Regions from separate parts of the Homo sapiens genome. Here all the other regions are linked to region 1. The links are contacts of gene promoters, found by promoter capture Hi-C in blood cells and fetal thymus (Javierre and others, 2016). All regions are on one chromosome and are shown on one strand. Each heading gives the region's core, a stretch centred on a gene start or on the middle of the fragment in contact. The rest is flanking DNA. Distances are from core to core; before and after follow the strand shown. Region 1 holds the start of VCAN (versican). Region 2 has its middle 240 kb from the start of MIR3977. Region 3 has its middle 190 kb from the start of MIR3977. Region 4 has its middle 170 kb from the start of MIR3977. Region 5 overlaps LOC105379050 (a long non-coding RNA gene). Region 6 has its middle 46 kb from the start of MIR3977.

Region 1 (4,718 bases), core at 681-3,180:
TTCACAGAAAGGTCTATCTTAATGTCTGGAGTATATATTTCAATGAACATTCATTTTATTTTATTTCTCTCCATTCCTGAATCAAGCAATCTTGAATCTAAAGTTGCTATGATTAGCACTGAAAAGACCACTGGACTATTAATTGTGTGACTTTGGGACAGTAACTTTCTGCACCTTAGTTTGTTTACATGTTATACATGAAGGTTGAAGTCTGATTCTGCTCTGTGACTATCATTCTAAACATCTGATGAAATCAAATTTCAGTGTTTGGAATGGTAGTACAATAAATTTACTAAGAATAAATAATTCACTGCAAAAACACATTGATTTCCAAATGATGTAACTGACAGTTATATTACTGCAGAGGGCTGATAAATAACAAAAGAAATGAAAGATGCACATGGTGAGAACTGAAATTATCCTGACAAGTCTTCTACCTGTTTATCACTTAAAATCAATGACCATGCTGAATGCCTACAAATTACAAAATATAAAAGAAATCTTATAAATGCGCATGTACAGGAGTCTAAGTTACTAAAAGTTTTAAAGCATAAGTTTAAACCAAACTAATCAAAGAAGTTGAGAGGAAAAATTGGCTTTCATCTTTAATCACTACTGTTTTGAGGTCCTATGTTTAATATAATTTTCTAAGTAGAGGCTTCAGAGAGAAGAGTTGTGAGGATACTTTCATATTTGTGTAGAAGGAAAAGTTTGCCATCCATTCTAGTATCCCTAGTGTTATACTGATGTGCACCTTGGATTTATTTTGTTCCTATTGTATAAACTCATACTTGACTTCAAAGAAAAGGAAAATCCAAAGTCCCTCTTTTCTAAGGGGACAGAAATCCTTTGTGTCAACTGTTTGACCCTTTTCTCTGTAAGGTCCTATTGGAAATCTTTTGTAACACAATGCAGGGGACTCTTCCATGTGTTGATGCTGTTTACACAGTGGGGTGGGCCTGACTGAAGAAAAAAAATCGCATATACGCATGAAAGATTATGGTCTTATTTCCGGAAAGCATGAAAGGTGATTGATACTTCCAAGAAGTCCCTGTTACTCAGGAAAATTATCAAATATTCTACTCAGAGATACTTGGAAAGACTGAAGGAAAGGAAGAACGAAGAAAGCAGAATCTAGACTTATGTGGGGAGAGATTTGTGGCAGAGGAAAAGTATTCTCTTTGAATCCGACAAGGGATTTGCCTGGGGGAATTTCCTGTCCAGCCTTTTATTACCAGGGTCTTTTGAAGCCGGGCTCCCCATTGGGCAGTTCCCTGGGAGTGCAGTGGGGAATTCTTACACTTTCCCTCTAGGTCCCCGAAGGATCTCGTTTTCTCAGTGTCTCTTTCAGGTTGGCAGGAGCCTTGAGCCTGACACTTCCCTTTGATGGGACAGGCAAGCTCTGTGGGCGCGTAAACACGCTGTAACCAAGTTCTTTGCTGATTTTACAGTTTTGTGTGCTCCCGAGAAGAAGTGATCGTACTCAATTGTCTATTGCTGGCCTGCCCCCTAAGAGCCTGGGGGCTCCTTTCCCCTAACCCAGAACTAGCTGCACGGGGGGCGGGGAAATGGGGGTGGGGAAGGAGTGGGAGGGCAGTGGTTTCCGCGAGCAGAGCGATGTTACTGAGTGAGTCCCTGAATGGGGAGCGCTGCTGTCCCCAAGCCGATTGGTACTTCTTGTCAGGAAGAAACGCCAAGAGGTGGGAGTGCCTGGGGAGGGAGGCAGGCGGTCCCTACCGCAGGCGCGGGGAGCTGCCTTTCCGCCCCTCCGCCTGCTTTCCAAGCCTGGACTCTTAGGAGTGGCTGAAGCTGCGGAGCGCTTTTGGAGCCTGTGAATGAACCCTCCTCCTCTCCCTCCTCCTTCTTCTCGCTGAGTCTCCTCCTCGGCTCTGACGGTACAGTGATATAATGATGATGGGTGTCACAACCCGCATTTGAACTTGCAGGCGAGCTGCCCCGAGCCTTTCTGGGGAAGAACTCCAGGCGTGCGGACGCAACAGCCGAGAACATTAGGTGTTGTGGACAGGAGCTGGGACCAAGATCTTCGGCCAGCCCCGCATCCTCCCGCATCTTCCAGCACCGTCCCGCACCCTCCGCATCCTTCCCCGGGCCACCACGCTTCCTATGTGACCCGCCTGGGCAACGCCGAACCCAGTCGCGCAGCGCTGCAGTGAATTTTCCCCCCAAACTGCAATAAGCCGCCTTCCAAGGTAATCACGTTTCTTTTGTTCCCCCCTTAAAAAACAAAAACAAAAAACTTATAGAAAAAAACCCGCGAGCTTAGAAAAAAGAAGCAATTGGTAGAAGGCTTTAATTAAGGCAAAGAGCTGTAAGGCGAAGTTAAGAAAATGTAGGCACTTAAAAAATGCAGGTAACTTTCATAAGGGCTTTTGGGGAGAGGCATACAGAGGGACCTTGGTGTTGAAAAAGATTCAGACAAAAGAAACCCAGGGTGGGGTGGGGGGTAAAATGACTAACGGAATTGGGGGAAGGGAGGGAATAAATTGTAAAGAAATCATAGAAAAGTGGTGGGTTCTTGAGCTGGAGAGAAGAGAGGGACCTTTGGCACTTTGATTTTTTTGTTGTTGTTGTTCTTAACACGCTCGAGGCAAAAGTTTGAATGGGGACTACCAAGACTTGCCACAGACAAGTCCCCGAAGCCGCCTTGGTGCAGGCCACCTGGTTTCCCAGCCCCTGGTGTGTGGTCAGTGCCTGGTGTTCCTGGAAAGCCACTCCCGGGCAGCTCCTGACAGTGCGACCCGGCGCCCAAGCAGCCTGGGACCTTGCGCGGACCTGACCCCTTCAGACCGCAGGCAGTCTGGGAGGAGGTCCGGCCGGGGGAGGTGCAGGATCCCCGCCGTGTCTCTTTGACGACTTGGGGACTGTCACGGTTCTCTCCCGGCGCCCCTGGGTTCTTTTGTCCTGCACGCGGTGCGAAGGGGCCAGCAGGGAAGGAGCAGAGGATGGGGGGTGGGGTTGTTGGAGCCCCGCGGAGGTCTGGGAGGCCCCTGGGCGGGAAAAGCCTGTTCTGAATCGGCAGGGATGTGCAACAATTTTTCTCACCCTGAAGAGTGAAATAGGGTCTGTCGCTCCCATCTCAACAAGCAAACCGGCACCCAGAGCGCACTGCAGACAAAGGTGGCTCGGGGACCCGAATCAGGGGCCTCTGGGTCAGTCCTCTCGCCCAGACTACAGGAGTCCTCCGTTTCCTTACATATTCCCCACCCTCTCCTAGTTCTCCGCTCTAGTTGAGCAACTTTACTGGCAGGTCTAGCGGCAGCGGCGCGCGCGTGTGCCGGGAGCCCCGGGGGACGTCCTCGGCTGGAGCGCCCCACCGTCCTGCAGAGGCGTGGGCGCTGTAGGGCGACATCCCTGGTGCGTGCAGACCTAGGGCATCCGGGTTGTTCTGGCCCGCGGTCTGTGTCACTGGGCGTGGAGCGGTCTGGGTGTTAGGCAGAGGAGAGCGGGGTAGAAAAATAGTGTCATAGCCTAAACTATTTGCTCTCCAATCCAACTGCGTCTCGGCAAGTCCTGCATGTCCCTGGGAGATGCTGCGGGAAGGGGGAGAAATCTACACGGCGCCTGGAGAGTTGTCCTGCCGCGCGCACACCCGCGGCAGAGTCTCTCTGGGTCGCGTTCCTCATCTTTGTGTCTCCCTCTGTCTCCATCTTCTCTGCCTCCCTTCCCCTCTCCCAGCCTCTGTTCTCTCTCTCTAGCTTCTGCGTCCCCTCCCCCACAGCTGACAAATGAATGGCTAGTGTGAAATCCCTGCCTTTCCCGTGCTCCAAGGCAGCAGGGAGGGAGGAGCGAGGGAGGCGGTGCGCTCCTTCGGATCTGCCCCCAGTTCAGCTCACAAGACTTGCAGAACCTAGATGTCTAGGAATTGGGAGTTTTGCGGCGGGTGTGGGCGCCCCCTGATGGAGAAGTCCCGCACAGGCGGAGAAAAACAAGCCCCCCAGACCAAGCGAGCATCTTTCACAACCTTGTGTTCAAGGATGGAAGGCCCTAGTTTTCCCTTAAGTCATTCATTTTGCACTCCACAATCTGCGGCGTACATCTAGGAGTTTGGAGGACCCTGAAAAAAGGTCTTGGTCTGTGCAAAGTGCAGAGATGCCTTCTCGCGAGTCGGCTGGAACGCACGCGGCGCCCTGGGTCCAGTTCGCCGCTTAGTGGACGAACGCACATGGCCAGGGTGGAGCCAGGTTTCGGAGGTCTAGACGCGCCACCCTGGGCGTCTTTAAGAAAGATAATACACATACCGTGCTCTCAAAACCCATGACCACTTGAACCCAACGCTAGGGCCCCGCCCCAGGATATTGCAAAAGAAGGGCTCCTAATCCAAAACTTAAACTTCCTCAACTTCAGGGCGGGCGTCGGACGGGAAAGTGGAGAGAAGGCGGGCAGTGGGAGGAAAAAAGAAAGGGAAGGAAGGGAAGTGGAAGGAAAGAGGACCGTGGAGGGGAGGAAAAGGAGAAAGGAACGGAGATGGGGCAGATGGCATTCAAACAGCCAGGAACGGACCGGAAGGGTTCGTTTCGGGGTTTGGGTCTGAATTTCGAGACTCGTTTTAGGATACTCTTTTCCCTTTCCCAGCGGCAACAAATGTGACTGCAGAGGCGTGCCGGGATGGAAGGGTGGGAAAGAACTAGACAAGCGGAGGTGGTCCAGCCCCGCCCAAAGGGGCTGGGTCTGGGGCCCGCCCCCACTCGCTCACCTCG
Region 2 (4,718 bases), core at 922-3,421, 870 kb before region 1:
ATATAGGATAGCTATTACTAGTAGGAATAATTATTTATAACCACAGTCTACCCTCTTCTTACTTCTTAATTTCTCAATTAATAAGACAAAAAAAGCAAAATCCTATCCTCGTTGCAGCAACTGTTTTTCATTACAGATATAGTATCTTGCTAATAGAATTAATTGCTAAGGATTTAACCTAAATTTTCTAGTTCTATACAAGTAATAATAGTAATTAAAGGGAGAGTTCCATGTTTAGATTTAACTTTTTTTATTGTACCAAAAAAATGAGTCAATTGAAAATATTATCCAGGAGAAAATTATCTTTGCCTCTTGTGTGGCTATGGAAGTTAGTATTTTTTTTTTTTACTTGAAACGAATTCTACAGTTTAACTGGTTTTCATCTTGTGGTGAAAGTTTCCAAAGGCCATCAGGAAAATTGTCTAATAAGTAAAATATTTGCCTAGAAAATTGAAACATGTGTCTGCATAATTCAGACCTATATTCTTTCTCTCTTCCCACTATGTCCAGATAATTGAATAAAAGTTTTGACATAACTTTTTTGTGGTCATTTGCCAACAGAATTATTTAGTTCTTGCTCATCAAATACACTAGATAAAAAACAATGGAAGACATCTTAATATAAGATGCAAAGATCTTGAACATTTCAAAGATAATTTCCCAATAGTTACTAGTTACCATGGAAGTTTAACAAATCATCTTTGAGGTGTCCCTTTTAAAAATATAAATAATACCCTCATTTGTAAGTCATAAAGATCAATGAAGACTATTTCATAAACATTATGAATAACCTAACATTCTAATTTCATTTTGGTTTATGTTGCTCACACCATGAACAATTTTAGTTCGACTCCTGGAATAGAAGTTACACATGCAACCTATGACCAGGTTAGTCTGTTCCAGTTAGTAAAATCACCAAATCAGCCCATCATTCGAAGCCCTTTCATGATTCTCCCACTATGTATGTTTCAATCCTAACTTTATCCTTATTCCTATTTCTAAATTTGTACATGTCATCATATAGCAAAGGTATGACCTCCATTATACCTTTAATATATTAGCCAGAAATACTCTTCTGCATTGAAGCTAAGCATTGGTTGGTGGTTGCGTTGAAGCATTATTGGTGGTTGCATTTATGTAAGAGCTCAACTTTTACTTCAAGCTTAGCCTATGGGATTTGTTATCTTTCAGAATCCATTCCATTATCAACAGCGTCAGCTGGGATTAGGTTCAGCTGGCAATAACAGAATATTCAAACATGAATGGCTTTATCACAAAAAAGTGTATTTTTCTCAAGTTATAAGATGTTCAGGTAGGAATTTGCTGGCTGTTTCAGCACCTCTAAGATGTCTTGGCCAAGATCTCTAAGATTCTCTTTGCTTTTTCCTCATGAATTCAAGATGGCTACTGGAGATCCTGCAATAATTTTCACTTCCCAGGCAGCAGGATGGAAAACTAATAAGGCGGCAAAAATGGTTGGAATATTTCATTTTCCAGCTTTATCTGCAAGGAAGGCAGTAAAATAAACTATGTGTAAGAGAAAAGAAGAGTAGGCAAGAATAGATATTAAGGTAGCAACGAGCATTTTGCCACTCCAATCAGTCTTAGTTGATGTTAATTCTTCTACCCACACCTTCCTAGAATATTAGAATTCTGCAAGTTTTCTTACTTAAAAGCAAGGCCTAAGCCTGTCATAAACAGTCCTTAAAGAGACTGGCCATAAACAGGATTTCTGCAGCAATGTGACATGCTCGTGATGGCTATCATGCACACTGCTAAAAGTTGTTGGTTTACTGGAGCAGGGCAAGGAACACCTGGCCCGACCTGGAGCGGAAAACTGCTCTAACCACAAATTATAGCAGGAGTGGCCTGTGCCTTAGCAATATGCTTTTGCTGCAAATAATCAGCCAGAGTCTGTTTCTCTGCTCCTCACTAGGAATGCTTTTAGTTAATCTATAATCTATAAGAACTATGCTTATCACTGGCTTTCTGTCAATAAATGTGTGGGTCAAACTCTGTTCATGGCTTTCAGCTCTGAAGTCTGTCAGCCCCCTGATTTCCACTTTATACTCTATTCCTGTGTCTTTGTCTTTAATTCCTCTGGTGCCACTGGGTTAGGGTCTCCACGACCGAGCTGGCCTTGGCAATTGCCATATTTTACATTATTCTTACATATTTGTTTTCTTCCTAAAATCTGCTGTCCATGTTTATAAACTTGTGTTAGCTTCAAAATCCTCCAAAACAAAACAAAAATAGAACTGACGTGGAAATGAGGACCAAACATGTTACTTAGTCACAAATGAACAATAAACTGGCAGGGTGACCAAATGAATCCAATATATTATCTAATATGTGTGTGAGAGGAAATGAATGACTATTATAGACACAAAACGAGTTGCCCTACTAGAGCCCCAAAACATGTATTAGGGTAATGGCAATTCCTTGCACCTCTCGTCACACCTGCTTCTCATTTGACCCTGCATTACATGTGTGTCTCAATCCATTTGTGCTGCTATAGCATAATATCCAAGACTGGGTAATTTCTAGACAACAGAATTTATTTGTCACAGTTCTGGAGGCTGAAAAGTTCAAGATCAAGGAGCTAGAAGGCTGGGGGTGAGAGCTGCTCTTGCCTTGATGTGGCATCTTGTTGCTGCATCCTTTGCAGGGGATGAATGCTGTGTCCTCAAATGGCAGAAGGGATGGAAAGGTAAAAATGGTCTTAAGCTAGTTCCCTCTAGTCCTTTTATAAGGCATTAATTCATTCATGAAGGAGGATTTAATCACTTTCCAAAAGTCCTTACCTCTTAATACCACCACAATGGGGATAAGTTTCAACATAAATTTTGGAGGGGCCAAATTCAAACCATAGCAATATGTTTGGAGTTAGCTTGGCTTTAGTATGTAAATCTGCCTGCAATTCCTGAGCTCTATAGAATGATTGAATCTCTCTAGGGTTGTTAAAGTTCAAGCCAGTGAGTATTCATCCATGAAAAAGCCAAAATGAATTCCATGTTGTTTATAAAACAACAAAAATACTTAAATCACTTCTAAGAATCAGAGAACAACATCACATACGTGAAAATTCACTAACATATGATTTACCTGGGAAATACAGGTAAAATGGACAATAGGTCGGTAGAATCAGGAACATTTAACTACTGAGATATTATATTTAACTAAGCTTGAAGTAAAAGTTTAGCCCTTACATAAATGCAACCAACAATTAGAAGTGACATTTGCCATACTGGCTTTATGTACAATGAAAGCCATGTGTAATGCTGAAGTTATGATAGAACAAACATTTATTTCCCTTATATACTAATTTTTAGATTTTAAAATCTGTAGCAGTTAGAGTTTTTGTTTTGCTTACAATGTACCGATACATGTAACAATAAGCTATAGCATTATGGGGGTCACAAGTCTATGCTTTATAGGATATTTTAGAGATTTAAAATTATGCTCCCATAGCTTCCCTCATGTTGGTCTACCTTTTGATGTCTCTATTACTTCTATGAAATAAGAAAGTGAAGTTTCACCTTCTTGGAGTTCTATTATTAAGCTCAAAGATACATATTCAACAGATTAATTTACTTCAATAAACATCCTTGTGCTTGGTGGAGAAGATAACGATTCCTACCCTCCGGAAACTCTCCATAACAAAGTAAATGGCATTGGTCATTTTTCCAGCAGACACATGACTGTATTTCCGAGCAGCCTAGTTTCTTTGGGTGAAAGATTTTGGAGAATGCAGTTATTTTTTAGCTAGAGATGTTAGCTATCACTAAAAATTAATGTGGCTTAAACAGTCTTTAGCATATAAAAAGATGTTCAACTTACTACCCTTTAGGGAAATGCAAATGAAAATCACAGTGAAAAACTTCTGGTTTCTGGTCTGACACGTATAAGGAACTTATAAGTCTTAATACCATCCTAATAAGTAGAACAACTTGTTAAAGTTGAACAACCCGAAAAGTTAAGAAGGCCTCTTGGATCTGTCAGTGAATTGAGGTCACAGGGCAAACCACTACCCCATAACTGGAGAGACACATAGGCAGATACAGAGAACGACAACTTACTAGAGCAGAAACCCTTGAGTAGAAACCTCTGCAGAAACCAGTGTCAGAATAGGAAAACCTGAACTGACAAGTTGCTGGAGGCTCAGTGTGGACAAGTCTGAGAGTTAAAAACTCCAGGGGGGATCAGTCAGAGAGGGTGGCTTCCACACTTTTGTGAGTTTTACCTCCAGAAGCTCTATTCAGTTCTCACGGTGAATATTGAGGAAAAAATTGCCTCATGCTTCTGGCAGGGGGAGGGGAAAAGGAACCATTTAAAAATATGCCAAATCATTCTGTTCTTTTCAACAAAGTTTGCCCACAGAAGAAACTTCAACCAGAGCTTAACCTGTTAGAACTTTATCAGAGACTAATCTACTTGGGGGAAGAAAAATAGCCAACTCTAGCCCCTCTAGACATCTTGTTAGAGAAACTAAGAAGAAACTAAGTTTTTCTTGTAAGAGAAAAACTAAGAAGCACTGGCGAGGTGCACAGGCTAGGGGCACAGGCTCACCGAAAGACTGAGACTTAATATTAGGACGATAGAATACTTCCCCCCAGCACCTTACCACCACATTACTAAAGGCCCAACTACCACAGTTCCTTTTACCCTATATATCAGGTTCATCTTCCAACACAAAGTTGCAAGGCACACTAAAAGAC
Region 3 (4,718 bases), core at 1,131-3,630, 830 kb before region 1:
TTATAAGGGACACATTAACTGTGGCTAACTGAAGATCTCATTTCCCATCTTCTCTTATTCCATGGCCTATATTCATTTAGTAGAATGGCAGGCTGAGTTGCAAGGTAATTCTTTCTTTTAATTATTTATTGTGACACAATTTGAGACTTACTGAAAAGTTGCAAGGACAGCACAAAATTCCCAGTGTTAACATTTTAACCACATTTGCTTTATTCTTTCCTCTTTCTCTCTCTCATGTCCTTTTATAGCCTATTTTCCCTCATTTGTGCATGTATTATTAAATTTGCATATTTTAAATGTACAAATGATGCAAACTTACTCTAACTACATCTCAGAGGAATTATGAAATTGGTTTAATCAATGTTGCTGTGCATTAGGAGCTGATAAAAATGGATAAATATGAGTTAAGTGAAATAAAGATGTCCAAAATGTTGACCTGGCCAAGCAAAATGAATCCTAGCAACAGTAAAGAATAAAAACAGGCACTTCACTAAGGATGCTGTGTGGACCGAATTATGAAAATCATCACTAAACCAGAATAAAGTCTGCCTTTTGGTAATTTGCATCACTAATGTGCTATTACACTCTAGTGGTTTTTTTTTAACATACAGATGAGAGTGACATGTATGATCTCATGAATAATTCAAAGATTCACTGCAAGTTCTCACCTCTGGTTTCTATTGTTCCTCGGCAGAGAAGGACGGCTTTCAGTTAGTGTCGGAGCTGGAAGAATTGTCACCATGCAATATTATTGTTATTAACATTTTGCCAGTGATTATTGTGATTACAAGTGATTATTCTTACAACTAATTATTAAGATCCTGTATTATCTGGTCTTCAAACACCAAGACACAACTCATGCATTTCAAAACATAACTCACTGCATCTTAATGTATGTTAGCCAGTGGGGCTGGTTAGTAAGTTACTACCTGATGGAGAATTTGACTATGTTTGTGTCCTTGTACAGGCTTAGCATGTAAATTACACTTTCTTAAACAATTCGTTTCAGATTATAGAAAATGCTAAAACACTTCTGATAGCATAGTAAGAAATATCCAAAAGAAAAGGGAACCCCAGTGAATGAAACAAGTCAATTGAAATCTACTGCATCTCTAGAAATAATAGTTTGCCAGCTGGTTGCCTTATGGTTTTAATGATATTCTCACAGTATAGTTCCCAAATCTGAGTACTTATCAATAATCTCCAGGACTTCCTTTGTTTGTAGAACATATCATTTTATTTCAGTTAGCATGTCTCACCCTTATCCCCCTCAAAAATTAAAAAAAAAGTCATTGGTTGTTCCGTAGCTTACAGAGAAAGTAGCTTTTCAAATGAATGTCTAGGGAATGTTGAGGAACACCAGCTTCTTGCTCTTCTCTATTACATAACAACGCCTTTGGGCATATAAGTAGTGGAACTGCAATAAATGTTATGAACAGAAGAAAATGCCTATTGTGATTATTGCGCAGCACTGGCATATTGTGGAAGAGACTTGTGGCAAGCTAAAAACATAGAAGCAGAGGACATAGGTCTTGGCACTGGATCTACCATTTGTTAGCAGCATAACCTTTAGAAAATCCCCCAAGAGAAAGCGGGAGAGAAATAAACATCTTTTATGGAGTATTTACTGGGGCAAGAATTTAGTAAAAGTCATGCCATTTAATCCACATAATAGTTGCAGAGATAGATGTTGTTAGCTGCATGTTATCCATGCGGAAACTGAAACTCAAGGAGGTTAAGTCACCTGCCAAAATTCATAGAGCAGAGTATATGGTGGAGGGTGGGCTACTGTAATGGTTAAGATCATGGTCTCTGAGTCAGACAGAAAGAGGGTCAAATTCTGCATCCGGGTGCCATCACTTATGGGCTGGGTGTCCTGAAGCAAGTTATTGATAAGCTTTATTTTTCTTATTTCTAAAATGGGAATATATTTGTATTTCTATCTCATAAGGTTGTTTTAAGCTGTAACTAAGATATTGTACGTAACTGCTTACCTCAGCACCTGATTTTATTGTTTAATCCTTTAGTTATATTATTTTACAGAATAACTGAAGGTTTTCAAGCCCAAAAGCCTGCATTGTCTCAGTTTTGCCAACTAAAAAAGGAAGATAAAAATAATGGCTCTCCTCTCCTTCCATATTATACGAGAATTACAGGACTAGTGAAATAATGAGAGGAAAGTATCTTGCAAGTGGATGTGTGTGCACGTCTTTACAATTGCTCTGAACTTGTTTCTTGTAGGTCTTGAGTCTCCAGATACAATGTAAGCTACTGGAAAACAGAGGTCATATTTTCACTTCTGCTGAATGCTACATTTCTAATTCAGATTTCTGAAACATGAAGTGCCCAATAAACCCTAATACAGTAACTCTTACAATCATTTATTAGCAGCACTTTCACTCAAATTAGAAACTGTTTTTGTGTTTATTATTTTTTTATGGAAAGCCATATAATCCATTTTGTCTTATATAGAATGAGGGTATTATTGAGACCCACGAATGCTACTAGAGTCCAGCAATCACATTTTTATGATATTATAAATCTCCCTCTTCCATGTGTCGTGAATATTGTTCCTAGCAACAGAAATAATTTTAAAGGGGCATGTTACCATTTTTAATACCCACAGGTGTTTCATTCTTAAACCCCTTTCTTGCCCACATTAATTGCTACCCTTATCCAGTACTGAAATAAATGCATATTAATTTTTAGTGTTGTTTATTTTATTTCTGCAGGTGTGTATTAATTTCAGAGTTCAGCTAAGCCTGTCTAGACCTTAAATGCCACCAGATCTCTTAAGCACACATTTATTTTTTATTGTTTTTGTTACATTCTTTATTATCAGAATTCATGAGTGTAGTTTTTATAAAGCTTGTTACTTACCCTGAAGACTGGATTTGAACGTGCCGTTCTGGTTGGCTGAGTAAATGGAGATTTAATTACAGATATTTAATTGCTTATTATGAACTTGATGGACTGGAACTGAATGAGCCCTTCTTCCCCATTTTCTGCCTTCAACTCCACTACACGAACTCATCGTGGGCTGGCTGCTATTCTGTACAACTTTCATTACCAACTTATGGATCGTCACTCCTTCGAGTTCAGTGTAAAAATTTATGTATGTCTGACAATAACAGGGGGTAGTCTCTAGCTTTCTTAAAATAAATGAAGGAGGAATATTTTATTTGAAAATAGAAAATGAGGTTAAGCTTAGGAGAAATAAATTCATGAACTAGCATGAGAGATAATCTTCAATTTGAAGAAAGCCTGATTGGAGTTTAGAAAACAGAAAGTGTATTCCCGGATTCAAGTAAAATGTAGAAGAAAATGCAATTCTAATATGTAGCTATATTTATTCTCTTAAAAGTCAAATACAAAATGGGGTATAATGGAATAGAGGAAGTTTAGTCGTACTAGGACATACGAGAACATGTAAAAAACTAACAGTGATTGATTAAAGTTTGGTTACAGTTCCCTTTCACATTATTTTTTGATGCAATGTTTTGAAGAAAACTATAATACAGACTTACCAAACTTAATTTTAGTCAAAAACTTTTTTTTTTTGCGCTAGACATATGTTTATCCTGCTGTATAAATAAACTTAAAATGCTTATGTGATCTTGCTGGTGGATCAGCATTTTAATCTGAAGGATTTTGTTATTAAGTTTTCACTTCAAATGAGAGCAGGTATTCGTATTTGTACTTAGAATTTGGGTATTGTTTATGTTGGTATGAGAGTAGGGAGTTTAAAAAAGCTGGTTCCAGCAAAATTGTCTTAATCAATATGACTCCTAATGTAGTGCCAAAAATATTGTAAATTTACAAATAGTTTTTTACTTTAGGTGTTCCTTGAGTATTATGTAATGTTGTTGTTCCTTTTCGCGGTCAGGGATAATAGGCTGTGTGGAGGTTTCCTTTATGAGAAAATTTGTCTCCTCCCCTTGCCCCTCGCCCTGGTATGTCCAAGAATCCTTCAGGATGCTAACTCATGTTTTCTAAAGGGTAACCTCTGGAGCTGGATCCAACCTCAGCTAGGTCCGTGCACCCATGAGGCTGGAGAACTCCACAATCATCTTTAAAGTAGTTGTTTCAGATGGAGCTACTAAAGTAGACCTCAGCTCAAATCCAGATGGTCAGGGAATTGTCCTGCTTTCACCACTGTGGCCACTTCTAATATTGAAGAGCATCGCTGCTTCCTGTTACACCCAAAGTGCTGATGCTGGGGCTGAGTTTTCTGTTCCAGTGGTTGTCACTGAGGCTAGTGCAAATTCCTCTCTTGGCTGCAGTAGTTCAAGGAGATGATACTGGCCTAGGGCAGCAGTGTAACTCTTTGATTTCATTACACAACCACATTCTCAGCATACAAGCTGGCTCCCTCTTGGCTGCTGAAATATGTTCTGGGGTTCAGTAGTTCAGAAATGTGGAACTTCCATCCCACCTTGACCTCCCTACTGATACATGGTTAGATGTTATCCCCTCTCTTGGTGATTTTATTTCAGGACTTTCATTGCCCTTCTTTGCCACTTGTCCTTTGTCAGGAGTATCCCATTTCACTCTGTTAAATTTCAATAAGATGAATCTTTTGAAACTTTATGAAGATTTACCAACTTCTGTCCACTTACCAACTGGAAGAAGGACAGAAGATTTACCAACCTCTGCCCTTCAAGATCTCTATCCAGCACCTACAAAATATCAGTTCTGCCTCCCTGGATTTTCCTCTG
Region 4 (4,718 bases), core at 1,454-3,953, 800 kb before region 1:
GTCGCAGGGCTTTTTCCTAGATGAGTAAACAGCTGCTTCTTGGGGGTAGAACTATGAGTAGCTAATACTCAAGCACTTCCTTGCCCTTTCACCTCTTGGAGATTCACCTGTTGATTTTGATTAGGGTCTCTCTCCCCGTCTCAGCTTATAAAAGCTTCACATTTTAAAGAATGCTCTAACAGGTGGGTTCACATTCTCACAGATTTCTCCATTACTGACAAAACAGGTCAAATTTCAAGTTTCTAGCCAGAGGAAGCAATCGTTACTTCCATTACTATGGGAGATGTGGGAAAGGGAAGTGAGAAGCAAATTAGAGTAGGTGGGCTTTCAGGTTCCTTCTAGTCCTGCTAGAATTCGCTTGATGTTTGTCCATTCGGAAGGCTCATAGATGCATTTTGTCACAATGGAGACATTTTTCTCTTTCATATTATGTGGAACATTAAAAAAAATAATAGTCTGGCAATGCTTTGGGGAGTTACGCTTTTCCTAGTGTGTGGTTCTTGGCTGAAGGTATATGATGGTTGGGAAAAAATCAACAAAGGACTGCTCTGTATAATATTATGTCTCTGGTAGAAAGTGGTTTGGAGGGTTTTATGAAGCAAAGATTCTAAAGGTAAAATCTTTAACAAGTCACAACTCTGAAAGGCTGATCAAACCTTACATAAATAAACTAAAAATCTCCAAAAGAAGCAAGTCACCAAGTGTTCACATTTGATTTGAATATTTCATTTAAATATTTTCCAAGTTTGATACTTCTACCCTTTCTTTTATAAGGAATCAAATAAACAAATATGTTGGAAATGCATGCATCTTATTTATGTGATAGCTTCATGTTTGTTAGAATTTTATTATTCCCCTTCTAAAATTATTTGTTGCTCTTTAGTTTTCCCAAGGAGACTTAAGGCTAGACTCTGAAGCAGAGTTTGCTGAACAACACTTCCTCTACACTAAACTTCTATGATTTTTATATTTAATGGTCTTCATTTCACCTATATCTTGGGTTTCTTTCCTCTTACACTATATCAGAAATGTTCAGGGTAGTCCATAAAGCCCATTACTAGTCTGTGACACAAAATGATTATCAGGCACATATGGTTTTACATAACCCTGATGGTTTAAAGAAGGACTGAGGAAGAAATAACAGATTCAAGGGGTGTAGCATGACCTTAGCCTAAGGTGGCGGATGTGGTAAGGAGGGTATAACACTTGATTCTGAGGCTAAATTGGTAAAGTGCAAGACAAATTTGGCTTCCTGAAGTGTTATCTCCGCAAAGAAAGGGGTTTATTGGGAAAAATTTGGGAGTCATCCTTGACTCCTTCCACTTGCTGTTATCCCCCAATATCCAATTATCTCCAAATTCTTTTGTTTCATCTAAAATATCTCTTGAGCCCATCCTGCTCAATCCACCTGTGTAGCCACTGATCTAGCTCAGGTTGTCATTCAAAGCTGCATTGCTTCTAAGCTCACTTGGCTGCCTTGGTTTCTCTCCCTTTCTACCTTCTCCTGTCACAATGAAATCTCAGTTTTATCAGGTACAGGTAACATCCCTGATGAGATATGTCACTTTCCTCCCAGTGCCTACTGACTAAAGGTAAAAAAATCTTTATATGTCCCACTAGGTCCTATGCGATGTGCTCCTCGCCAACCTACAGCTTCATCCCTCATTATCCTCCCCTCTTACATCCATTTCCAGCCCTATCTCTCAATTCACATTTCAAGTCACAGCAACACAAAACTGGCTGTGGTTTCTGCCCAGTAATCAGGCCACTTCCATCTCTGGGTGTCTGCTAATGCTGGGATTTCTGTTTTCTTGCCCTTTTCTGTAAGTTTCTAGGCTCACTTCTTCCCCCTTTGCCTCCCTAACTCATTTCTCATTACTGGACGCTCCACCATGGGGGCTGCTTCACTAGGAAGGCTTCTGTAAGCTCCTCCCTGCCCATTGTCCCAGGCCAGACCAAACACCTGTGCCTTATGCCCCCAGTGCTGTCTGTGAATCTCTCACCAACATGTTCTCCTTCTTTATATCCCTAGTACTGTACCTGGCACAGAGTAGGTATTTAAAATGATTTGTGGGTGGGCGCAGTGGCTCATGCTTGTAATCCCAGCACTTTGGGAGGCCGAGGCAGGCAGATCACTTGAGGTAAAGAGGTCGAGGCCAGCCTGGCCAACATGGTGAAACCCCGTCTCTACTAAATATCCAAAAATTAGCCAGGCATGGTGGTGCAAACCTATAATCCCAGGTACTTAGGAAGCTAAGGCAGGAGAATTGCTTGAACCTGGGAAGTGGAGGTTGCAGTGAGCTGAGATTGCGCCATTGCACTCCAGCCTGGGCCACAAGAACAAAACTCTGTCAAAAAAAAAAAAAAAAAAAAAAAGATTTGTTTGTTACATAAGTGGAAGAAAGTATACATAATGAGAAATTGGTGAATACTTTTGATGCTGCCAAACAGTGGTTTAGGCAGGGTTTGTCTCCATTTAGCCCATTTTGACCCTGCCCCTTTTTTAAAGGAAATAAAATGTTATTTGAAGGTCTGGGTACCCTTCCCTGATCCCTCTCTTTCCAAAGGTAAGAGATATTCTAAATTTTGTTTATCACGTATATAAGAGATAGCTGTAAATAATGTATTTTCTTGCATATCTTCAGACTTCACATAAATGGTATCACACTTAAATGCCATTCTCTGTTCTCTTCAATCAGTATTATGTTGTGAAGATTTTTAAATATTAATACATAAGACTCCAGTTCATTCATTTTAATGCTATGTCATATTGCATTGTATAATATACCACATTCTTATATTGATTAGAGTATTGCAAACACTGCTGCTATGAACATTCTTCTCCATGTGTCTAGGGTAAATATTCAGAGGAAGAATTGCTAGGTTGAAACGTATAGTATCAACTATACTAGATATTGTTAAATTTCCTTCTCAGTTGTGCCAATGTATGCTTCCACCAGCAGCTTATGAGAATATCTACGGCTCCAAATTCTTTAAAATAATTTTAATAAAATAATTTACACTTGAAATAATTTAAAATAATTTTAATTTGATGAATTTGAAATGCGTTTCATTTTCTTTGGTTTAATTTAAATAACCCTGACTACTGATATTAAGCATCTTATGTTTATTGGTCATTCAGATTTTGTTTTCTATGAATAGATTTATATAATAAATAATAAAAAGTAAAAAATCCAATAGGTTGAATACTTGGTCAAAACTGGGGTATTGTTGAAAGGGAGAAAGGATAGAAAGTGTTTAGTAACCCACAAAGTCTGCTACCGCCATTAGAGCATATCAATTACCAAAGACCTCTTGTGGTGGTGGCCCCTGTGAATCTCTCATGTTTTCCTGGTTTCCCTGCTTTAGAAATAAGGAGGAAGAAGAGCTGAAGATACATTCATATTTCATATTTCTATGAATCAAAGTGTCTCTAGTTAGAAAATAACTAAGCCTAATAAGGGAGAGAAGATACTTGGATAACAAAACCAAAAAATAACAAGACTGATATTTCCTTCATGTACAATGCAATCAAAGAAACAAATAGATGCAAATACAAGTACATATTTTGGCATGAACCCATATAGCTCCAGGCACAGCGATTAGTTTTTTTCCCTTCCAATCTGCTTCTATCTTCCCTCTACTTCCAGCCCTACCCTTCAATCTCAGTCTTGTTTCTTGGCTATGCAATAGGGAACAGAAATCCTTCAGGGTCCATGTAAGGTCAGCAAATGTCTAAATCAACACCACCTGGTAAAAATGCAGGGTGAGCCACAGAAGTGATCTTAAATTTTTGAAAAGGCACATTTTTAAAAAGTAAAAAGAAAACAGTAAAATTAATGTTAGTAATATATTTTATCCAAAATATAATCATTTCAACATGTAATTAATATTGTTATTGAAATATTTTCCATAGTTTTTTTATACAAAGTCTTCAAAATCAATGTGTATTTTGCACTTATGGTTCATCTCAACTCATACTAGCCAAGTGCTTAATACCCAAGTGACAACTACCCGCCTTATTGGACAGCTTGGGACTAAATAATTTGTAGCTCATTGCGAAGTAATCCAACATAATTATCCATTCTTTACTTCTATTGTCTCACTTTCTCATAATCTACTGAAATTCTGTGTTCTGCATTCTGAGTACCTTTTCAAATCAAGACAAGGGCCCAGGGTTATCCCCCAAGAAAACTGTGGAACAGTATTTCTTCTCTTCAACAAAATGACCCCTATATTCATTGCCCATCAGTCATTAATTTAGCAGTTCAAAGACTCCTAAAACAGAATGTGGGGTCATCACTCTAATTTTAGTTGCCCTCAGAACAACTGCATTCTAGTGTGCATGAATGTTATTCATTCAGTGAGAGACTTAAAAATGATTTATTTACAAAAGATATTCATGGCTCCTTGTAAAAAAAAAAAACTCTAGAATGTAGAACTATAAAGGATCATAATTTTTATCTAATCCAACTCTGAGGGAGACACAGCCAACAAGCAGATACACATCTAGAACTTATGTTCCTGAACTCCTGTACCAGTGTTTATTCTGTTACTCAATATGAATAATAATGATCTATAATCAGGACTCTGAGGCCCAGTAAACAGTGTCCCTCTTACCTCTCTAATTGCCCTCAGGGCTATGCAGCTTGATTTCTTCTTGGCAAACATGATTGGGAAATGTGAATGTCACATAGGTTAGATTATTAGGCACCCTA
Region 5 (4,718 bases), core at 692-3,191, 740 kb before region 1:
GACCCCATGGTAAATACAGATTATAATTTCAGAAGGCTATTATTTAATTACTGATAAATAATCAAATTTTTAAATTTGATCAATTTTAAAATTCTTCACCAATTTTTATGTTTTGTCATTTGAGAGCCTTGGCTGATCTTTAAACATGCTTAGTAAATTTACCTGAAAGACCCACTTCGAATTGGTACAGGATACTCCTCAGCATTCATTTCCTATCTATTCAATTTCATGACTAAAGCAAGCTGTAGCTGGTGGCTTGAGAATTAGTTTATTTTTGCCTTTAGGGAAATTTAACAAATAAGTAATGTTCTGACTGGTGAAAGTAATAATTTACTATTTAAATTAAATTATTTAATTAAATAATTAAAGGTCCTAATTACTATTTACTTCACTGAAGACTTACCACACACAGGTAAAGAGAAACCATCCCATGGAAGTTCAAGCTTCCCCTCTAAAGTGTAAGTCTGCTGAAATGAATTGACAATACACATTAACAGAAGAAAAGCCATAACAAAGTTATTCGATCATAGTTTTATATGACATGAGAGTTTTCACATTGATGACCCAAAGGCTCAGGGTGAACTATCCATTTTTACGCTTAGGTTCTATTAATCATGGACAGCCATGTAGGCATATGATTAGGCAAAAGGCTATGATCTAATAGTAATAGACCACGGGGGAAACGCAGCAAGGCAGGTTAGAGCAATATTTTTAGAGTCACAGTTTTAGGTCTTATGGCTGGCTTTGGGGAAAAGGGATCCTGGTTTCTATGACCGCCTTAAGGAAGAGAGATTCTAGTTTCTATGGTGTGCCTCAGGGGGAAATGAAGGATGAGAGACAGGAGGGAAGGAGAAGGCCAGAGAAAAATTTTGTTACTTCTGAAGTGTTCGCTTTGGGGTATCATTGTCTGAGCCCAACACTATCAAAGATCATGGGTTTTCATGTCATGTCATGTTTGTAATTAATGATTTAAGGCCTATTGAGAGAAAGAGGAGGAAGGAACATGCAAGAAGTGGGAGCTAAATAATTCCAAATTAGAGCCAGCTCACTAATACCCCTAAGTATCAATATACCAAGCATGTTGAGAGAATCTCACACCTCAGCCCTCATGTGTTAAATGCTCCACCTGCCTCTGACACAGGCGATGATCTCAGAGGCAGTCCCATGTCCTTAGACTTACCTCCCAAAAGGAAATTTGTTATCCATCACTCCCCTACATTCTTCAGACAGCTCTGGTTTTTCCAAGTAGAACTTTCTTCAGTCTATCTGTAGCAATAGCAGAAAATATTTCCTTGGCTTCCAAATTCAAGGAGACTTGTGCATAGAAATTCTATTTTTTTTTTTTTTCATTTTTGGTAAGTTTTAGTGTCAGGGGCAAATGTCAGGTTTCCCTGAGGTCATTTGGGAATTGAGGATGTCCCCATGTGAGATATTGCCGTACATGAAAAGGGCTCTGGGTGATAGAGAGACAAGAGAGGAAAAGAGAAAAGGAGCCATGTGGAGACTGGAGGTCTTGGGTGGGAGTGCTGACAGGCACTGGGTGGGGAGGCCGAGTTTATTACTCTGTTAACAGGTTCCTTTGTAAATTCATCATTTGAGGGGAGTCCTGACGCAAGGAGTGGGAACTGAGAAAAGAGAAAACAGGAAATACACGCCAACAATAAAAAGCAGGCTTTCAAATGAAGAACAGAACATCCAAAATTTCAGCAATGAGAGATGTAAAATTCATGGAAACACTGACTCACGAGGTCAGTTAGCCATAGTTTAATGTCTTTAGTTCACTCTTTCTTTCCCTTCCTCAAAAGGAAGAATAAGGAGAAAATAAAAACTTTTATCCATAGTATATAATATCAAATGAAGTATATTTCAAAGCATTGCACAGAATTAACATCCTTGCTACTTTAATGCTGTAGTTAATTGTCTGGCCTATATGAAAAACTGAAAAATGAGAGAACAGTGAAATGAAGCAGATGCCAAAGGATTCTGGAATGAGAACAAAACACATCAATAATCCATGGGCAGATTTTCAGAAGTTTACAGATGATAATCCTGAAATATTGATTCAGCATTTGTTTTGTTTAGGACAGTCTTAAGTACTTAGAAAAAAAAATCTTAAAATATATATGCCTAGTCAAAGATTCAAAGAGCAAAATGAAGCTATTTATCTCCAATCAATGTATAAGCATGTAAATTTTTTTTGTAGGTGACTAGATAAAGACAGAGAAATCTAGAAATGCCACAACCTTTTAAGGTTTTGAATTGCATTTCAGAGAGTCTGATAGTACACAATATTCAGAAATTAAAGAGACGGTTCCCTTCTACTTTCTTTTCAATCGCTGCCTCAAGAACAGGGGACCTTTGTTACACTCCATGGTATACTGAGCATATGTATGGGAAATATCCTGTGTGGCTTAGGATGAAATAAATAACCTCCTGTGGTCACAAGCCACTCTGCAAAATGGCACTAAGAAGACTGAGTTTAAAGGCAGAGGCCTTTAAGCATGGCCTTTGGAATCAATTGGTTATTAACATTGTTATAACACAGTTTAATTTTTATATGAACATTAAATAACACTTATTGAACAAGCTCAATTTCAGGACTTTTCTCCCCATTTATCTCACAAGTTTTTTTTTTTTTTTAAAGGCAACAGAAAAGGTCTCCCTATATTAGAAGTCCTAGAGTGACAGAGGAAATGAGTCATCAAGATAATTTATGAACTTTCCCATAGCTTGCAATGCACGAGCATAATAATCCTTTGTTATTTAGCCTACTCAGAGACCAAACTCCAAGACCTTGATGGAACACAATTAAAACAGGATTTCTGTAGACTCAAGTCTCTGCTTCACATCCAAAAATGGTTTTACCTTATTGCAATATACTCAATTAATTTTTTTTTTTTTTTGAGACAAAGTCTCGCTCTGTCACCCAGGCTGGAGTGCAGTGGCGCGATCTCGACTCGCTGCAACCTTCACCTCCGAGGTTCAAGAGATTCTTGTGCCTCAGCTTCCTGAGTAGCTGGAATTCCAGATGTGCACCATCACGCCTGGCTAATTTTTGTATTTTTAGTAGAGACGGGGTTTTGACACGTTAGCCAGGCTGGTCTCGAACTCCTGGCCTCAAGTGATCCACCTGCCTCGGCCTCCCAAAGTGCTGGGATTATAGGTGTGAGCCACGGTGCCAAGCCTCAATTAATATTATTTACTATTTTTCACTTTTCTACTGTAGTCACAACAAGCTAGTCTCGGTAAGAAATTATTTTTAAAATGAATTTTTAAAAAGTTTCTGGGTTTTAGGAACTTATAATTCATAGGAGAAAAAGAGAAGCCCCAAACAGCTGGCATACTCAGTAAAGTATATGGTGAAAGTCACAGGAGAGCTTCAAAGTATTAGAAAAGAGGTAATTTGCATTCCAACAGATTTTTGTTTTATTTAATAATTGAAGCTTCTGGATCAATGGGGAAAAACGAATCAGGCATGATGTTTAAAACTCTGGTTATTTTTGAGAATCTTTTGATAGGGAGTCAAAATGATGTTCTTCAACTCATTTCCAAAGAAAAAAGTGTTCAACAATCTTAACGACCTAAAAGGTGTGTAGAGACTTATATTGTTAAAGATAGTCACGTTTTCCATAGTTTTGTAAAACTGTACTTTCTAAATGCAATTGTACTTTCTAAATATACTTTCTAGGTATAGTAGATATTACCTTAAATATTCTCCCGCCTGTGAAATGTCATTTAGCTTGACTGGGTGTTGAAGGGTGTCCTCCAGGCTCAGAGCAAGGATAGCCTTTCACATCCTGTCTCCTCTCAAACACTGTGTCTTAAGGCACCTATCCTCAACACCTTGGAAAATTGGGCAAGGCCTGGCCTTCTGTCTGCCACATTATTTATCATGTGGATGTGATCTATTGACAATTCTAGACACCACGCATGGGAATAGGGGTTTCTAAGTTAACCCATCAACTTCTCTCCTGAGCAGCAAGAAACTCCATTCTATTTGGTAATATTTGCTGAGTCAAATTCTGGTTTGGTAAAAATATGTTAAGAGTGGATCCAATTCAGTCCTGAAACACATCTATGCACTCCATGAGGACCACACTGGATATTGTTTAGGCCAGTGCTTTTAGTCCTGGCTATGCTAGCCCACTTACCTGCCTTCCAGGAGACTGCTAAACCGCATGTCTGCACATGAGCACAGGTGTGTGCTCATCACACACAGTTCTTACATTACATGAGGTTAGCTCCCAATTGCTCATTAGAATGTTAAATGCATTTTCCTAAAGGTTAAGCACTTACCAAATTATGCAAAACATAAAGATTAAGAATATTTTTTTCCCATTCCTAGACTATGGGCCTGTAGGAGTGAAAAGGTAATAATACCTTTTCTTCATATATTATGAGAGTCATGGCCAACACTCCTTTAACAAAAGACAGGTTAGCAAGAGAAAAGCATAACAAAATTATTTAACAGTTTTCTAAGACATGGGAGCCTTTAGAAACGGAGACCCAAAGACCCAGGAAAAACTGTGTTTTATGGAAAGTTTGAAGAGGAATGGACAGCCATGTGGAAATGTGATTGAACAAAAAGGGTATGATCTAATGGCAATAAGCTGAGGGTGGGGTGATGGGGAGCAGTGTGGGAAAGGGAGTGGTATCCCAGCAAGGCCTGTCTGTTCAGGATCTTCTTGTCTTCTCTGTCTAGCACTCCTTCCCACCAC
Region 6 (4,718 bases), core at 1,211-3,710, 680 kb before region 1:
CGTCCATTAAACACTTTCTTTACTGCAATACCACAGTCTCAGTGAACTGGTTTTGTCTGTGCAGTGGACAGGAAGAATCCATCAGGTGATTACAGTGACAATTCAAGGGCTACTTCTTTATTGAAACGTTTCCTGAAGTCTTCCCCAATCGATGAAGAATTACCTCCTCCTTTTTGTCCCCAGTGTGTCTTAATCACTATGCTCAAATAAAATCCAATATTGCATTTCTTTATACGTGTTAGGCCATAAAAGAGGGTTGCAAATCAAATGCCTTCATGACCGAGAGAGGCATAAGTGAGTGAAGCAGCTAGAATTAATATAATATGGAATGGTGAGAGTGTAGCAAAGTAGAAAGTGCATACCACTACCTATAGCATGCAAATAAATTTATTTTAGAACAAACAAAAACTGAAAAGTCTGGGAGCGAAAAACTTATGACACTATCTTTTTTAAATGTAAGCCACTAAAGTTGGTGTATACTCTTCAAGATGGAAGGGGACAAATACTAGCGACCAGCCAAGGTTTAAAGAAGTCTGTATGTTGAAGAGTTTCCCAGCTCAATCCCAGTCTAGCCCACTCTATTGCTTGTGAGAGTAAACCACAACTAATTGCCTTTACTTAAAGTTCTAAGTATTATCCGAGAAAACAGGAAACAATTTTCATCCCAATACCTAATTATGCACAGATTAATTTTACTTTCATAGAGAAAGTCAAAGATATGATTTCTCAAAAATGCAATATTACTCTGTTTGACATCATACAACAGCTTTTTCTCATTAAGCATTAAACTTGGGATTTTAAAGTATCTACAACATGTTCACATTTTATAGGCAACTATTGTATATCCTGTGTTTAATTGGGATCTAAATTTATGACATATTGTCAGATAATTTCCTCACTAGTGCCCACAAATAGTCTCTTACAATGTTTATTCGTTTTGACAGCATTGCTTTCTTGGATCTTTTCACTTTCTTTGTAAGGGGTCTTGCTTCAAACTACATTTTATGAAGTATGTGCTAAGAAAGAAACACAAGCCAAAAGTTTGAGCAATGCCACTAGTTAGATGTTGCATTGAGGAAATCAAGTCTCAGAACTTCCAAGGGAAATGTGGAATGAAGAACAAACTGTTTTGGTAAACTCTCTTTAATCCTCTAAAAGACTATAATGAGTGATTTTTGTTAGAATTTTAGATGATGCTGATGTCATCTGAAACATCTACTTAGGTAGGCAACACAGTGCAGATATTAATGTAACAGACTCTGAAGTCAGAGGCCTCAGGTCAAATCCAAGGTCACTTAATCACTTGATTCTCAGTTCCTCATCTATAAATTTGAATTTATCACCAAAACTATGATAGGAATACTAGCTACCTGTTAGGCATGTTAAAAAGTGCAAGTAACATAATTTGCAAAGTGCTTAGCATCACTTGACACATGGTAGGTGATATGGTTAGGCTTTGTGTCCCCACCCAAATCTCATCTTGAATTGTAATCCCCATAATCCACATATGTCAAGGGACAGACCAGGTGGAGATAATTGAATCGTGAGGGCAGTTTCCCCCATGCTGTCCTCATGATAGTGAGTGAGTTCTCACAAGATCTGATGGTTTTATAAGGGGCTCTTCCCCCTTTGCTCAGCACTTCTCCTTCCTGCTGCCTTGTGAAGAAGGTGCCTTGCTTCCTCTTTGCGTTCTGCCATGATTGTAAGTTTCCTAAGATATCCCCAGTCTTGCTGAACTGTGTGTCAAACCTCTTTTCTTTATAAATTACCCAGTCTCAGGCTGTTCTTTATAGCAGTATGAAAATGGAGTAATATAGTAGGACCCAAGAAATTATAACATGTACTATTGCTATTTACCTGGAATTATCAATAAGTTAGATGACATTTAATTATTTTTGGTAATAAAGAAGTTTGCGTACTATTGTTTTTCATACTGATTGTTTAAAAGCTTCAACATCTGTTTTGTACACATACACAACCAGATATTTGTAAACAATTTTTATAATAAGCCTATAGTATAAAAAAGGATAATTCTACCTAGAGTTATCATGAGGAGGGAATGATCTTTTATGCAAACCTCCATCAGTAGTGTCGGAAACTAGCAGGAAACTACAGTGTAATTACTACACATACAAGGCTCTGCATTCTTATTCAATTACTGCCTTCGCAGGCCTTTTATATTTTTACTCAAGCATAGTAAAGACAATATGGCATATTCAATCTCTACTTGGATAATTATAAATAATTAAATTTAATTAAGCCCTAATTATGCATAATGAAAAAAAAACTAGCATTTCCCTGGGATGTTCATGCAATCCCATGACTAGCTTGGCTAACTGTACACTGCAGCACAAAACTTGAAAATTATTAAGAAACCTAAAAAGCAGCAGATACCGCTAATTTAAGATGTGTCCTGGAACAAGCCGCTCAATTTCTGTGGGACTTAGCTTCCTCACCTACATAGCCCTGGGTGGAATTAATTCTTTCCAAGACGTCTTCCAGACTTCAGAGTCTGTGTTTATATGATTATCTAGTCTACCTTTTTCTTATCTCAACACAACTTAAGGAAAGCAGCACAATCCCATCTTTAGTGGTGGCAGAGATCCTCAAATGACGTGATAGGTGCCCCCTACTGGAGTGTCTCAGAATTGCTAGTGTGGTGGGAAGGAGGAATTTGTAGATTGAAAAACAAATAAACAAACAAAAAAAACCCGCCAAAGGAAAGTAAAGTGGGGTTTTACTTCTGTTGTCCCTATTGACTAAAGTATTCCAACCATCCAAATACTAAATTTTAAAAATTATTATATTTAGAAAGCCTTGTGGGGGCCAAGAGAGACTTCCCCTTTGCCCTCTGGGGAGTTGCTGAAAAATCAACTCACAAAAGGCAGATTAACTGGAGAAAAGGCACACATATTTATTTAATGTGCACATAGGGAGAATCACTGAGGGATGCCCACCATCCCAAATGGTTCAGAAGCTTAGATACTGCCTTGGCAGAACAGGTTACCCGAGAGGGGCAAAGAGAAATTCTGTTGAGGGGATTACTAGGGAGAATGAATGTCTCAGGGAACAGAAATTAGCTTGTCCATTATCTTGTGAAAGGGTCTGTTCAGGCATCATTGCATTCTTGGTTTTACAGGGAGAAGAAAAAACAATTGTTCCTTTTGGTGGGCCTGGATCTTAGGCAGATAAAGGTTTTGGGAGAGACGGTGGGTGGAGGAGGGCACTTACATGAGGTTTCTGCAGTTCAGCATGTCAAAACACATTTGGAGTTACTGATTTCTGAGCCCTAACAATCTCTAATCCAGGGATCATAGAAAAGCGGCCCTCAAACCATAAACAGTCTATATATGTGTTTTATACGGTCAATGTTCTTAAAATATTGGAATTTGTCACCAAAACTTACAACCCAAGAGAATTCACAAAATCCGAATTTCTGGTTTGCTTTGAAAATTCAGAGGACCAGGCTACAGTAGGCTCACCTTCTTGCAGCATGATAATGGTTGTAGCTGAGTAGCATTTGACTCCCTGACTACCATTCTCAATGGCCTCTTTAGCATTTGTCACTATGTGTTTCTCTCTTTTTCTTCTAGTAGAGAAACATTTTTCTGTATCTCAGCTCTATCAAAGGTAGGGAATCTAAAGACAAACCATGTTTCTTATGCCATCCGATTTCATTCATTCATCATCAGTGTCTCATATTTGACTCACCACTACTGTTTCCCACAAATTGGCCAGTCAAATAACAGGGAACTTATTTTCTGCTTTGTCACTTTGAGAAATATCGATTTGACCAGTTTTTACTCTTACTCTTTTTATTCATTTACTCTCAGGATGATTGCCAGATTTTCCCTTTCTCTGAAGCTCATTTATTTTAATAAAGTATAATATACTTTATTACTAATTTACATTCCCAGAAAATATATGTACTATATAATATAATATATAAATATACATTAAATATACAATGTAGGTATATATTACATTTATATATTATAATACATAGTATATATAATACTTATAATATATAACATTATATTTTCTATAATATATACATAATATATGTATAAAATAGAAAAAAAGATCCACAACAGACACAAATACTGTCAGTCACACATAAAAAAATGAGCAAAACTTCCTATCAATTATAAAATGTTTCTGAAAAATATAAAAAGTATCTAAGTATAAGGAACAATATGCCATATTCATTAATAGGAAGATGCAATAATACAAAGATATCATTATCCTAGCATTCATTTATAACATCAGTAAAATGCTTAAAAATTTTTGAATTTTTTTCCATGAAACTTAATAAGCTGATTCTAAATTTATATGTAATTCCAAAAGGGTCAAATCTATTCAAGAGAATTTTCAAGAAGAAGAGGTAAAAAGACTTATCCTAAAAATTACAGGACTTTAAGCTATGGAAGTTAAGATGGTAAGGTATTGTGACAAGAATAAAGAGACCAAACATAAATCTACATGTATGTACCCCTAATTCAACAATGTAACTACACTTAGTCTCTAAATACCATTTCCTACTAAAATGAACAAAGGCTCCTTGGAGAAAGAGCTGATTCCAGATCTGGAAACATAATTTACAGAATTGTCAGAAATATTTTGTCACTTTCAAGAGCAAGGAAGCTCTCCAAACTACCAGGGTCATGACAAAAGGACTTAGGAGCCAACTTAAAGAGGCTCCCAGTGGCCAAAAATAA

What was found. The method cuts DNA at HindIII sites, captures the fragments that hold promoters and counts their contacts. A CHiCAGO score of 5 or more calls a contact.
Region 2: a contact is called between a fragment that was not itself captured here and the fragment with the promoter of VCAN in region 1, in 1 of 17 cell types (fetal thymus). The highest score is 6.8, in fetal thymus.
Region 3: a contact is called between a fragment that was not itself captured here and the fragment with the promoter of VCAN in region 1, in 8 of 17 cell types (M2 macrophages, M0 macrophages, erythroblasts and 5 more). The highest score is 13.7, in M2 macrophages.
Region 4: a fragment that was not itself captured here is called in contact with the fragment with the promoter of VCAN in region 1 in 2 of 17 cell types (monocytes and M2 macrophages); the score reaches 6.9 in monocytes.
Region 5: a contact is called between a fragment that was not itself captured here and the fragment with the promoter of VCAN in region 1, in 1 of 17 cell types (endothelial precursors). The highest score is 5.2, in endothelial precursors.
Region 6: a contact is called between a fragment that was not itself captured here and the fragment with the promoter of VCAN in region 1, in 1 of 17 cell types (endothelial precursors). The highest score is 5.9, in endothelial precursors.

What each region holds. Positions count from the first base shown.
Region 1 is chr5:83,469,814-83,474,531 of GRCh38, forward strand. It overlaps VCAN (versican), which reads left to right and starts at 1,931. Exons shown (of 15, transcript NM_004385.5): 1 at 1,931-2,210. RefSeq lists an enhancer at 2,360-3,232 and a silencer at 4,665-4,718. The HindIII fragment of the contact is 5,577 bases long and covers 1-4,718 here.
Region 2 is chr5:82,599,436-82,604,153 of GRCh38, forward strand. No RefSeq gene overlaps it. Among named protein-coding and RNA genes, the nearest start is that of MIR3977, 240 kb to the right of the region's middle. The HindIII fragment of the contact is 2,022 bases long and covers 1,161-3,182 here.
Region 3 is chr5:82,644,263-82,648,980 of GRCh38, forward strand. No RefSeq gene overlaps it. Among named protein-coding and RNA genes, the nearest start is that of MIR3977, 190 kb to the right of the region's middle. The HindIII fragment of the contact is 971 bases long and covers 1,896-2,866 here.
Region 4 is chr5:82,665,341-82,670,058 of GRCh38, forward strand. No RefSeq gene overlaps it. Among named protein-coding and RNA genes, the nearest start is that of MIR3977, 170 kb to the right of the region's middle. The HindIII fragment of the contact is 5,103 bases long and covers 153-4,718 here.
Region 5 is chr5:82,732,916-82,737,633 of GRCh38, forward strand. LOC105379050 (a long non-coding RNA gene) reads left to right here. Exons shown (of 4, transcript XR_948504.3): 4 at 1,574-4,586. Among named protein-coding and RNA genes, the nearest start is that of MIR3977, 100 kb to the right of the region's middle. The HindIII fragment of the contact is 3,000 bases long and covers 442-3,441 here.
Region 6 is chr5:82,791,383-82,796,100 of GRCh38, forward strand. No RefSeq gene overlaps it. Among named protein-coding and RNA genes, the nearest start is that of MIR3977, 46 kb to the right of the region's middle. The HindIII fragment of the contact is 1,029 bases long and covers 1,947-2,975 here.